Linked DNA regions of Homo sapiens: regions 1 and 3 are each linked to region 2. The links are contacts of gene promoters, found by promoter capture Hi-C in blood cells and fetal thymus (Javierre and others, 2016). All regions are on one chromosome and are shown on one strand. Each heading gives the region's core, a stretch centred on a gene start or on the middle of the fragment in contact. The rest is flanking DNA. Distances are from core to core; before and after follow the strand shown. Region 1 has its middle 17 kb from the start of RDH14. Region 2 holds the start of PUM2 (pumilio RNA binding family member 2). Region 3 has its middle 10 kb from the start of MIR4757.

Region 1 (3,209 bases), core at 671-3,170, 1.8 Mb before region 2:
TCCATGGGAGAGTTAGGAGTGTAATAGTGTTAATTCATGCATACCTTAAGATAAACACGTAGTCCTTCAGAATCCAGCTTATTGTGAATCTGTGTGGGTATCTATCAAACCCCAGATGTTTTGCAGACTTTCACTTCTGTTGTCCTTGAGGTGCTAGGCAGTCAAAACAAACGTTCACATTCATTGTCGTTTCTTCTAGGAAGACAAATACCCTCTGGGTAAAAGTGATTTTGCGTTCTCTCTTAACTTTTAGGTAGGGTTCTCACCTTCATGTTGGCTTGATTTTGACCTAAAAATTTTTCACCAGCTTGTAGCATTATGATGTTTTTAAGAAAAAAAGTAGACATATGGATATCTATCTATGTATCTATCTATGTATCTATGTATCTATGTATCTATGTATCTATCTATCTATCTATCTATCTATCTATCTATCTATCTATCTAATCTATTTAAATTTCATCCAGAATTTCTAGTTGTTCTGGAATAAAAATTGGTCAAAGTAATTTAGCCCATCATGTCTATAAGCTGACATTCCCTTAAATAATGTTTTTGAAAAGGAAAATACAATATTTTCTCTGTGAACTCTAATTTTATTCAGACAGTTTTTATGAAATAATATTGCTATGTCAAGTGTGTTATTGGTTGTATAGTGGGAAAGCTATACTAAATATCTGGAGTCTTTAGTGGGTTTTCAGAGTTATGTCTAATCACTGAATTCTCAGCAGATGTTGAAGAGTTAAAACGGTTGCATTTCAAAAGAAATAGTTGCATTTACTATATGGTACTGTAATATGGTTCTTTTGATCACCATATTGTGATTTAACTCAGACATGTTCATTGTTTGTGCAATTTCTCCAAACCCCTGAAAGATGATATATATCCCTCTGGCAGGAAACCAACACTCTAGAGTGGCACTGGGTTATTTAACCACCCTGATAAATAATTTACACTTGGGGATATTATGCAGAAACCTTTTCAATTAACTTGTGTTGACAGAGAAACTAAATATAGTAGTCATTGAATTTTTTTTTAATGCATTCTTGACCTATCAGGCAGAAATAATCTTGTTTAAAATAACGTCCACTCTAGAAAATGAATATATGAAAGAGAAAAATTTTGAATAATAACCATATACGAGAGTTAAATATCTAAGATTGTTTTGATTTCAGAGGAAATTTTAACTTTTTCTAAGTACATCATTTTAGTTCACTAAAAGAAGGATCTGCTGGTTGAGTAAAAAAGCCAAAGGTTCTAAACTCTAAAGATTTTGGTCCAAATCGTGGCTGCAGATGAGTCACTTGAGTTTTCTGAAGCCTTGTTTCCTTATCTATAAATTAGGAATAAGAATAGTTTACAATGTTGTTACAAGAATTAGAGATAATATATGTAAACTATCTCAAATAAATAGTAGTTTTTATTCTGGAAAGAATTTTCCCTAATGAGTTTAATCACATGTCCTATTTTATTCTATTAACTGATGAGCCATGGTCTTAGGGATTTGCAAGAATGTGGCACTATTTTAAAAAGAAAATAAGTCTTCTTTAGTTTTTTTCCTACGTGTAAACTTATTTGAAAATTAATTAACAGCTGGAGTAAATTAATACTAAATATGGCAAAATTAATTGTGTTGGCTTTAGCAAGTCACATCTGTCAACTGAAGACAGGCTGCTTACTAAAATACACAGGCATCTGCAGAAAGAACTAGAAGATGGAGTCAATAATTTGACTGAACTATACAGAAATTTCCAGGGGAATTTGTGGCAGGATGATGATGATGATGATTATGATTGTCTGTATGCTTTCTTTGTAGACATTCTAGTTTTCCTTGTACTAATTCCCAATTACCATTGACTATCATTGTCAAAAATAATGCCACACTTACTTAACGGCATTTTCATGCTTACTGTTTTGACTGTTCAATACGAGTGTTAAAGAAGAATCCAGCATTGGCTTCACAAGCCAGAAGAGCTCTCTTTTCTTCAATAAAGATGGAACTCATTTCCTAGGGTATAGTGAGAGACCATCTACCAGGACAGCCAAATCAGCCCCATCTACCCTGACCATCAGTAATGTGGTAGACACCTGAGCTTTCAGGTCATTAATTAACTAATTAATTTGTCAACCTAATATTTTGTGAGTGATTGATATAGCCCCATTCCAGATGTTAGCAGGATGCAGAAAAGGTGCAAACAGATTCCTGCTTTCAGTGTACTCACAGTTTAGTGCTTGGCCACTCACAACTAACCTTTGAGTCCCTTCCTATCTCTACTTCTCTGACTTGTTTTGCAGCATAAACACAGGAATAAATATTCCTAAGGTAACCAAGGATTCGGTCATGAATGTCTTTCTAATCCATTCACACTACCCAAAACACTTATGCAGGATTATCCATCACGAGTCATTCTACAGTCCTAATCACATTGGCTGCTGAAGGAAGCCTCGTATTAATTACATTTTTCCTAAATGGAAAACAGCTGTGATGAATTAATCTATTCACCAGAAATCTCATATTAGGAAATGAAGTCTCATATTTCTCATATAGGAATATCTATATCCTGATATAGATTTTTCTCAACTGTCAGTGTCTCCAACTGGAAGAGGAAGAATAATATCTTCCTCTACCTTACCTGTGTCTTTGAATGTGGCTGGTTCACTTGGCCCCTTCTACTTCTCTGTCATACAGCAGAGACAAAATGTTTCCTCAGCTAGACTAGAAACATTTAAATGATAAACACATATTTTTTTAAAAAAATGTCACTCAGATGCAGTAAAGTCAGCAAAACAGAACACATAATTACAAGGCCCACTTAAAGAGACACATCCAGAGCATAAATCTCCTGCTTAAGGATGGGCCTAATGCAGATATTACTGCTAATGCCACTAAACATTCAGTCTCAGAAGTCACTTCCTGTGCTCTGATTCTAGAAGAACTAATTAAGATTCTGAGTATAAGTTGGCTTCCCAAATGGATTTTCTTTATTGGGATACATTTTGCTACCCAAAGAAAAGTTTCCTGTTCTTTTGTTGGTTTCTCATTATTGACAGATATTTTGACAAATTCAAATATCTGAGGCTACTAAGCTAAGGCTTCAACATTGTACAATTGTGATTAAAGAAATGTCATACTGATTGCCTCTCTTCCCCCAACCCACCCCCAGCCCTTCAAGTAGTAATACCGAATTTCTTTGTGCCTTCTATATATGCCA
Region 2 (3,391 bases), core at 16-2,515:
TGAAGAGTCACCTGTTAAACACGAAATCTAACCATTAAACAAGCTTTTAAAATCCTTCGGTAACTCCCTTTATTAAAATTGTTTTCTTGACATACAGTACCTTTACAGGTATTACATTTCTCTTCACCGTTTACAAGCATTTTTCTCATGTTTTCCTTCACCAAAACATCTGCCCCGTTTTCTCAACAAGTAAAAATCTCAAAGTACTAAGTCCTAACATGATGTCTTATTGCACCTAATATGCTGGCAATACATTCCTCTCTTCAAAAGTTTACGTATGTTAGAATAAAAAGCTAAGTTAAGTAGGTTTTCTCTGGCTGTGTTTTCAGAAACAACACTAACTTTTACACGTGTTTGGGCATGAAACTTTAAACATTTTCCCCAAAACCTGACCCAATTCAGATACAAAACTACTGCTCAAATAGTAGAAGCCGCTAATCTTGTCTTTGGTTTTAATTTACATATTTTTCTGAATATCGAAATCCGTTCCTATAACCTAAACAAGGCGAATCCAAGTCACTGCTTCATACCCACATCTGTCCACGGCAAGCTTTTCCCGGACACACTCGGGCCTTTGAAAATGCCCACACTTGTTTTCATAAACCCACTCCTTCCTCTTCACCCACTTGCAATCCGCATGCTTCTCTGGGGCCACCCGGCCTCTCCCCTCTTTCCGAACCCTAGGGCCGACAGCTCGGTCTCTAACCTCCAGCGCGCCGAATCGGAGGGAGAACCGGGTCGGCGCCCCACGCCCCCGAGGCGGCGGCCCCGCAGAGGGAAGGAAGCGGGAAAGCGGCCGGCGCGGCGCCCCCTCCCCCGCACGCGCACACCCCCTTCCGGCACCCCTCCCCCTGCATTGTGCGAGCGGGCCCCAGGCCGCACCGGCCCGGGCACTCAGCAGGCCCTATCCGCCCTCCCGCTGGCGATCGGCTCCCGCCGAGGCCGCCGCACAAAGCCTGGGGAGCCATCCTCGACGGCGCCAAAGGACCGGAGAAAGAGCGAACGCGGACTGACTTACAGGGCTGCTGCGGCCGCGCTGCCTCAGCCGGGGACACCGACCGTTGGGCACACGGCGGCGTCGCTCTTGGCGGTCCTCCCCCTCCTCCGCCTTCGGTGGCGGCAATGTCTTCTTTCTCCACCTACCACCCTCCCCCCCCACCCCACCTCCTCCTTCTCCTCCCCCTCCTCCTCCGAACCACCGAAGTACCGAGGGTGAGACACAGAGACTCACAACAACATGGCTGCCACCGCCGCCTGCCCTCCCCTCCCCCCCGCCCACCGGGCGCGCGCAGTGCACCCCGGGAGAAAGGGGAGGGGGAGCGCTCACCAAGGCGCGGCTCCTTTTAATGCCTTGCGTCCCTGCTCCCGCGCTGCCGCCGCGCGGGCCGGGGGCGCCCTGCGCGTGCGCACGTTCTCCGCGCTCTCACGTGTTTGGCCGCCTCTCCGGCGTGCCCTCCCCCGCCCTCACCTTGCGGGCTCGCGCTTCCCTCCTGGGCTCCGCCGCGGCGGGCTCGGAGAGCGCAGGCGTACTGTTGCCAAACGCTGTGTTCGACTGTCTTCCCGCGTGGGGCCTCGCCTTCTGAATCTTCTTACCCTCGGCTTCCTACCCGGTTGCTCACTGTTTTCCCCCAACTGGGTGTGCGGGTGTCTGCGCCCGCGCCGCCCACCGTGGGGTACTCCTGGCATTTCGCTTCCAGAGTGCTGGCGCCCACAAGAGCCGGACGTTAATTCAGGCCTTTAACTTTCACTCTGTACCTCCCCACAACCAGACGAGGGAGATGCATCTGGGGGTGGAAGATTGTACCCTGCGAGAGGGCTGTCACTCTTCTCGTGGTTGCACCCCAGGCAGGTGGAGCCAGCTCTCAGCAAATTGTCGGCCCCCAGTGCTTGGTCCCGGTGCACACAAAGGAAACTCAGGTCGTTCTCCAGCTGGGCCAGTGATTCTCACTCGTTGGCTGTTTCTTTTTCTCGCGTACTAAGCGCTCTCTCCTTCCCCGTTTACAGGCTAGTTGGAAACTCCAAATCTGCCTTGCTGTCCTGGACCCCCATGCAAAGCAGTGGTGATTCCAGGATTCTAACCTAACCGGCTCCAGGTCACACAGCTGTAACAGGCACCGTGTCCGATTTGTTCTTGATGGTTTGTTTGCACAGCTCCTGGCTCTCCTGACATGCTGCACTTCGTAAATATTCAGGGCCTCCCGTATAGTTTGCTTAATATATGTCTTCCCTAGGCGACTGTGAGCTCCACGAGGGCAAGGACCTTGTGTTTTGTTTCACACTGTGCCCGCAAGTGCCTGTTGAATACACATGGGCTCTTCGGTTTTTAACTATTACTGAAAAATGTCTGACATTGAAATCCATCCCAAGCCCCTACCTTAGGCTCATATTTCAGGCTTCTAGATATTTTCACTTGAATTTTCTTGTCACCAAGCATGTTAAAAACTGAAGTCACACCCATCCCCTACCCCCCACTCTTGTACTGTCTCTGTAATTGGCAGTGTCACCACCTATTCATTCCCCAAATTACACCTCTGAGAACCATCCTTGTCTCTTCCTCTTACCCCGACTCCAAATATAAATAACTTACCAAGCCTCGCAGATTTTTACTTCCCAAGTAATTCTGGAGACAGTCTTCCTCTGCCTCCTCACTAATGCTAGCCTTGCTTCCCAGGTCTGGATTTCTGTAGCTGGCTCTTAATCAGCTTTCCTGTCTCCAGTCTCACTCCCTCCAATCAGTTCTGCTCACTGCTATCTAAAATGCAAATCCAATTCCTGGCGCTCAGGCCTCTGCTTCAACCATCTCATTGCTCCCCATCACCCACGACAGCATTTCCCTAGTGTGCTGTGTTCAGTGTTAATAGATGTTCCTTTAAGAAATGTCTCACGATCAAGTAAGAATGGGAGATGCTGGGGTGTACACATTTTGCCTTCCTTCTCCTTTCCCCTCCGTTGAGCTGATAATAGCAGAAGAGTCTTTATATACAGTTGCTTAGTGTGGGTGAAACTAGATAAATCCATCACAGGCCCTCCCTTAGAATATGGAATTGGGACTAAGAGACCCCAACCTCGAAAGTCTCTTGGACCTGGGATCCCTTGGGCAGACTGGTTCCATCCTGTAAGACAGGGAACCTGTAGAGAAAGAGTGGAGTTGAGAGAGAAAAGGAGAGTGCTGACAATGTCTCTCTTTCACATGTTTCTGTGCCTGGCTGGCTGCCTCTACCCTTGGAGTCTGAGCCGCATTCCTGGATCCTTATGGTAAATTCTGCTTCTTTGCTTAAGCTAGATAAAGTGAATTTCTGTTACAACCAAGAGTCCTACTAAAAGCCACGTGTAAGCTATAGTTATTTGTTTGGTACTAACAACATGCAAGCACCAAAGCACTTTCCATACA
Region 3 (3,161 bases), core at 135-2,634, 1.0 Mb before region 2:
TTACAAATTAAACTCTGTTATAGAATAAAAATACATAAACACAAGTCAAACACAATGGGACTGTTGTGCCTCTGACCACATCAGGGCCATCCCAGATGTGACATTAATTCTGAAGCCTGCGCCTGCCCAATTTGGCAGCCAAGCAGCTGCCGTGAATGAACTTTGGAAATGCTACAATATTAGCCTTCACTGCTAATCCTGCTAATGCACTCACAATCTATTTGACAGCCTGCCCATCACATCCCCACTGTCAGGGCGAGCAGCCTTTGGAGGTGACTGTGATGAGAGGATTACTGAAAGAACACCCCAGGGTACAGAGTGGCCCTCTATCCATTGCATTCTGACTAGTGCTGTAGATAGGCCACATACCACAGAGGGCACTGGACAGAAGCCTGTCTTCCATACACCCCCTTGGCACACAGGTACCAGAGGGAGAAGGTCACCAACCCAAAGGGATGGTGGTTTTCAAAGAGCCATGCCATGCCTCCAGTCTCATCATGCAGAAAGAAAGTAAGGCCACTTGAAGGAAAAATTCACAGGCCAGAGGGCCCTGGATCATTCCTTACTAGCAGAGCTCTCCTCTCTAGAAGCCCTACTTGCTACAGAAAAGTGAAAAAAGGTTCTGGCCCCTTGGGATGAGTCAAAGGATGCCCCTCCCCCTCCTTTCCCTCTAGCTACCAGGTTCCTCAGGGAGTGGTTGACACTCCATAAAAGCTGCATTTACAGCTTTGACTTCATTAAACTAGCAGGATTGCTTTATTTGCCTTCTAAATTTTCAGGACTTTTATTTAAAATGTTTCATCCTAAACAGAATAAAATGGAAATAAAAGGTGCAGCCTTCATCGCATCTTATAATTATTTGGAAAAGCAATCTAGGATGTCCTAGAGCAAAGCTTTTGTTCGCACTTCCAAAAATGTCCCTTCTGGGCAGCCCCTTCATGCTGGCTGCCGTCAGGGCTACCAGTAGATTGTTCTTTTTACTCCAGTTTTAAACACACAGTTCTCATTCTCAACCTAATGATCAGAAGCATGTTTTTCCCAGGAGCACAATTAACCAGTCACCCCTCTTTACCTTGAAGTTTCCTCATTTCTGTAATTGGACCAAGGCTGTTCTCCTCCAAAGTCCGGCTTAGCTAGGAACACCTTCTCAAGCTCAGGTGCCACAAAAGGCACAGGGAATGCTGAGATAAGCAGAATTGGCTCATGTCCTCAAGGAGCCTGCAGTCTATAAGCAGATATTTGTAATATAGCATCAGAAATGTTAAGTCACAGCTTTTATAGAAGTACATTGGAGAAGTCCCTGGACCAGACTGAGAAGGTAAAAAAGTTTCAGGCTGCATCCTGAAAAAGTCTGGTCTGGGTGACACTATATGCTGACTGCCTTCTTCAGCTATATTTCAGCCATACTGATCATACGGATCATTAGTATAAGGAACCTGGCTAAAGAAGAAACTCTGAAGGGCAATGGAAAGTCTAAGCCATGTCCCATCAAGACGGCAACCTGAAACCCATCTGAGGCCTCACTGCCACCTCTGTTAGCCCTTGACATTCCCAGCTGAGGTGCTCCAACATTTTTCAGGTTCACAAGCTCATACTCCAGCTAGTGAAAGGAACAGAAATGCAGTATAACATCATAAACACTATGCCACCCTCTCAAACAAGCATCATCCTCTTCTGAAGAAAGACAAGCATGAGGTCCCTAGTGCAGGCAGGGGTTGGCCACATTTCTGCTCTCTTCCTTCTCCCAGGATGGGCTCCCTCCTGAATGAGACACCCCGGAAGGCTACCCTGTGAAGCAGGAGGAAGACTTCCACTTTGTGCTTGGACTTCCGCTTTCATCCTTCCTGTGCCAGCACTCAGAGCACCTGGTGAGGCAAAGCTTTCTCAGCCCAGGACCTCTTAGCTGCTTTCTTCCTCACCAGCAGGAGGTCAGAGCCCAGCACTCCTCATTTGTCAGGCCAGGGCCTCCCCTCAATGAATCTCAGTTACAGGGAGGCAGTACAGGGTCCTGGGAGCCCATGGATTTTGGAGTCTGAAGAATCTGGATTTGAAGGCTGGTTCTATGATTTACTAACTTTGTTATCTTGTACAAAAATGTACTTCTGAGCCTCAGTTTCCTCATTTAAAAAAATGGGAATATTTGTGATTGCAAATCTCTTGGCACAATGTTTCAGATATGGTAAGGATTCAACAAATGGTAGCTATATAGAATATCCCCTCCCCATAGGTCTGCATTCTATAATAAACATCATCTCTTACTAAGGAAGGAAGGAAGGATTCTCATGAGAAAGTGAGGGACTCTAGGCTCCTTGGAAAGCAGCTAAGGAGAGCTCAAGTGAGAGGTGGGTGGTTGGTTCTCAAAGGGTGAAACTCTCGCACGTATTTCTGAAATCAAGGTGAGACAGTTTTGTTCATGATCCAGATGCAGATGCATGCCTCCTATGCCAGGGGTAAGTGGACCCCTAGGGCCAAAGGAGGCACCAAGCCAAAGCCAGCTGTGCACCCATCTCTCTTTGCTATGTGTCTGCAGGAGGGTGGGTTGGGGGGGGGCGGCGGTGTTCCAAGCACCTCGATGGACCTGGTGTCAGTCAGGTAGGCCTAGGACAATCATTCTTAGTGAAAAATAATAAAACCAACAAACTGAAAAGGGCAGAATGGATTTTTTCCCCTGGGCTCCTCAGAGGTTATATTAGCAGCTCTGAAGATTCTTTCTTGGTCACTGATATTCAGGCGCCATGCCTTTCTGGCCTGTACACATTATGCTGCTCAGAATAATTTATATAGCAGGGAAATAAGTCGATATTAGAGATTCAAAGAAAACTCTAGACATTTTACATTTTTTCCTGTCAGTCAAAAATATATTTAGCAACTAATTGTGAGAGGACCTAACAACCACAGCTAAAATACCTGTAATACTTAGTTTTGGCTCACTCCCTAATTTCAAACTCTGATGATTATGAATAGAAGACAAAATCTGCGGGGATTGTGTGTGTGTGTCAGTTCTGAGCCACATCTAAGAACCAGTCTACAGATGGAAGGAGAGTTCCTGCCCACCACGGGGGTGGTACAGGGTTCCTTGTCTCATACAGATAACCTTATGTGAAAATTCCCATTTTAACACACCAACAAGGTCGGTGTGGCCTAACTACCACTGAGCTCTC

What was found. The method cuts DNA at HindIII sites, captures the fragments that hold promoters and counts their contacts. A CHiCAGO score of 5 or more calls a contact.
Region 1: a contact is called between a fragment that was not itself captured here and the fragment with the promoter of PUM2 in region 2, in 3 of 17 cell types (fetal thymus, non-activated CD4 T cells and total CD4 T cells). The highest score is 8.0, in fetal thymus.
Region 3: a contact is called between a fragment that was not itself captured here and the fragment with the promoter of PUM2 in region 2, in 1 of 17 cell types (naive CD4 T cells). The highest score is 5.2, in naive CD4 T cells.

What each region holds. Positions count from the first base shown.
Region 1 is chr2:18,541,989-18,545,197 of GRCh38, forward strand. No RefSeq gene overlaps it. Among named protein-coding and RNA genes, the nearest start is that of RDH14, 17 kb to the right of the region's middle. The HindIII fragment of the contact is 5,341 bases long and covers 1-3,209 here.
Region 2 is chr2:20,349,579-20,352,969 of GRCh38, forward strand. PUM2 (pumilio RNA binding family member 2) reads right to left here and starts at 1,266. Exons shown (of 21, transcript NM_015317.5): 1 at 1,019-1,266. RefSeq lists a silencer at 649-1,538 and enhancers at 734-1,363, 1,364-1,995, 1,699-1,788, 1,996-2,625. The HindIII fragment of the contact is 4,637 bases long and covers 549-3,391 here.
Region 3 is chr2:19,336,757-19,339,917 of GRCh38, forward strand. No RefSeq gene overlaps it. Among named protein-coding and RNA genes, the nearest start is that of MIR4757, 10 kb to the right of the region's middle. The HindIII fragment of the contact is 986 bases long and covers 892-1,877 here.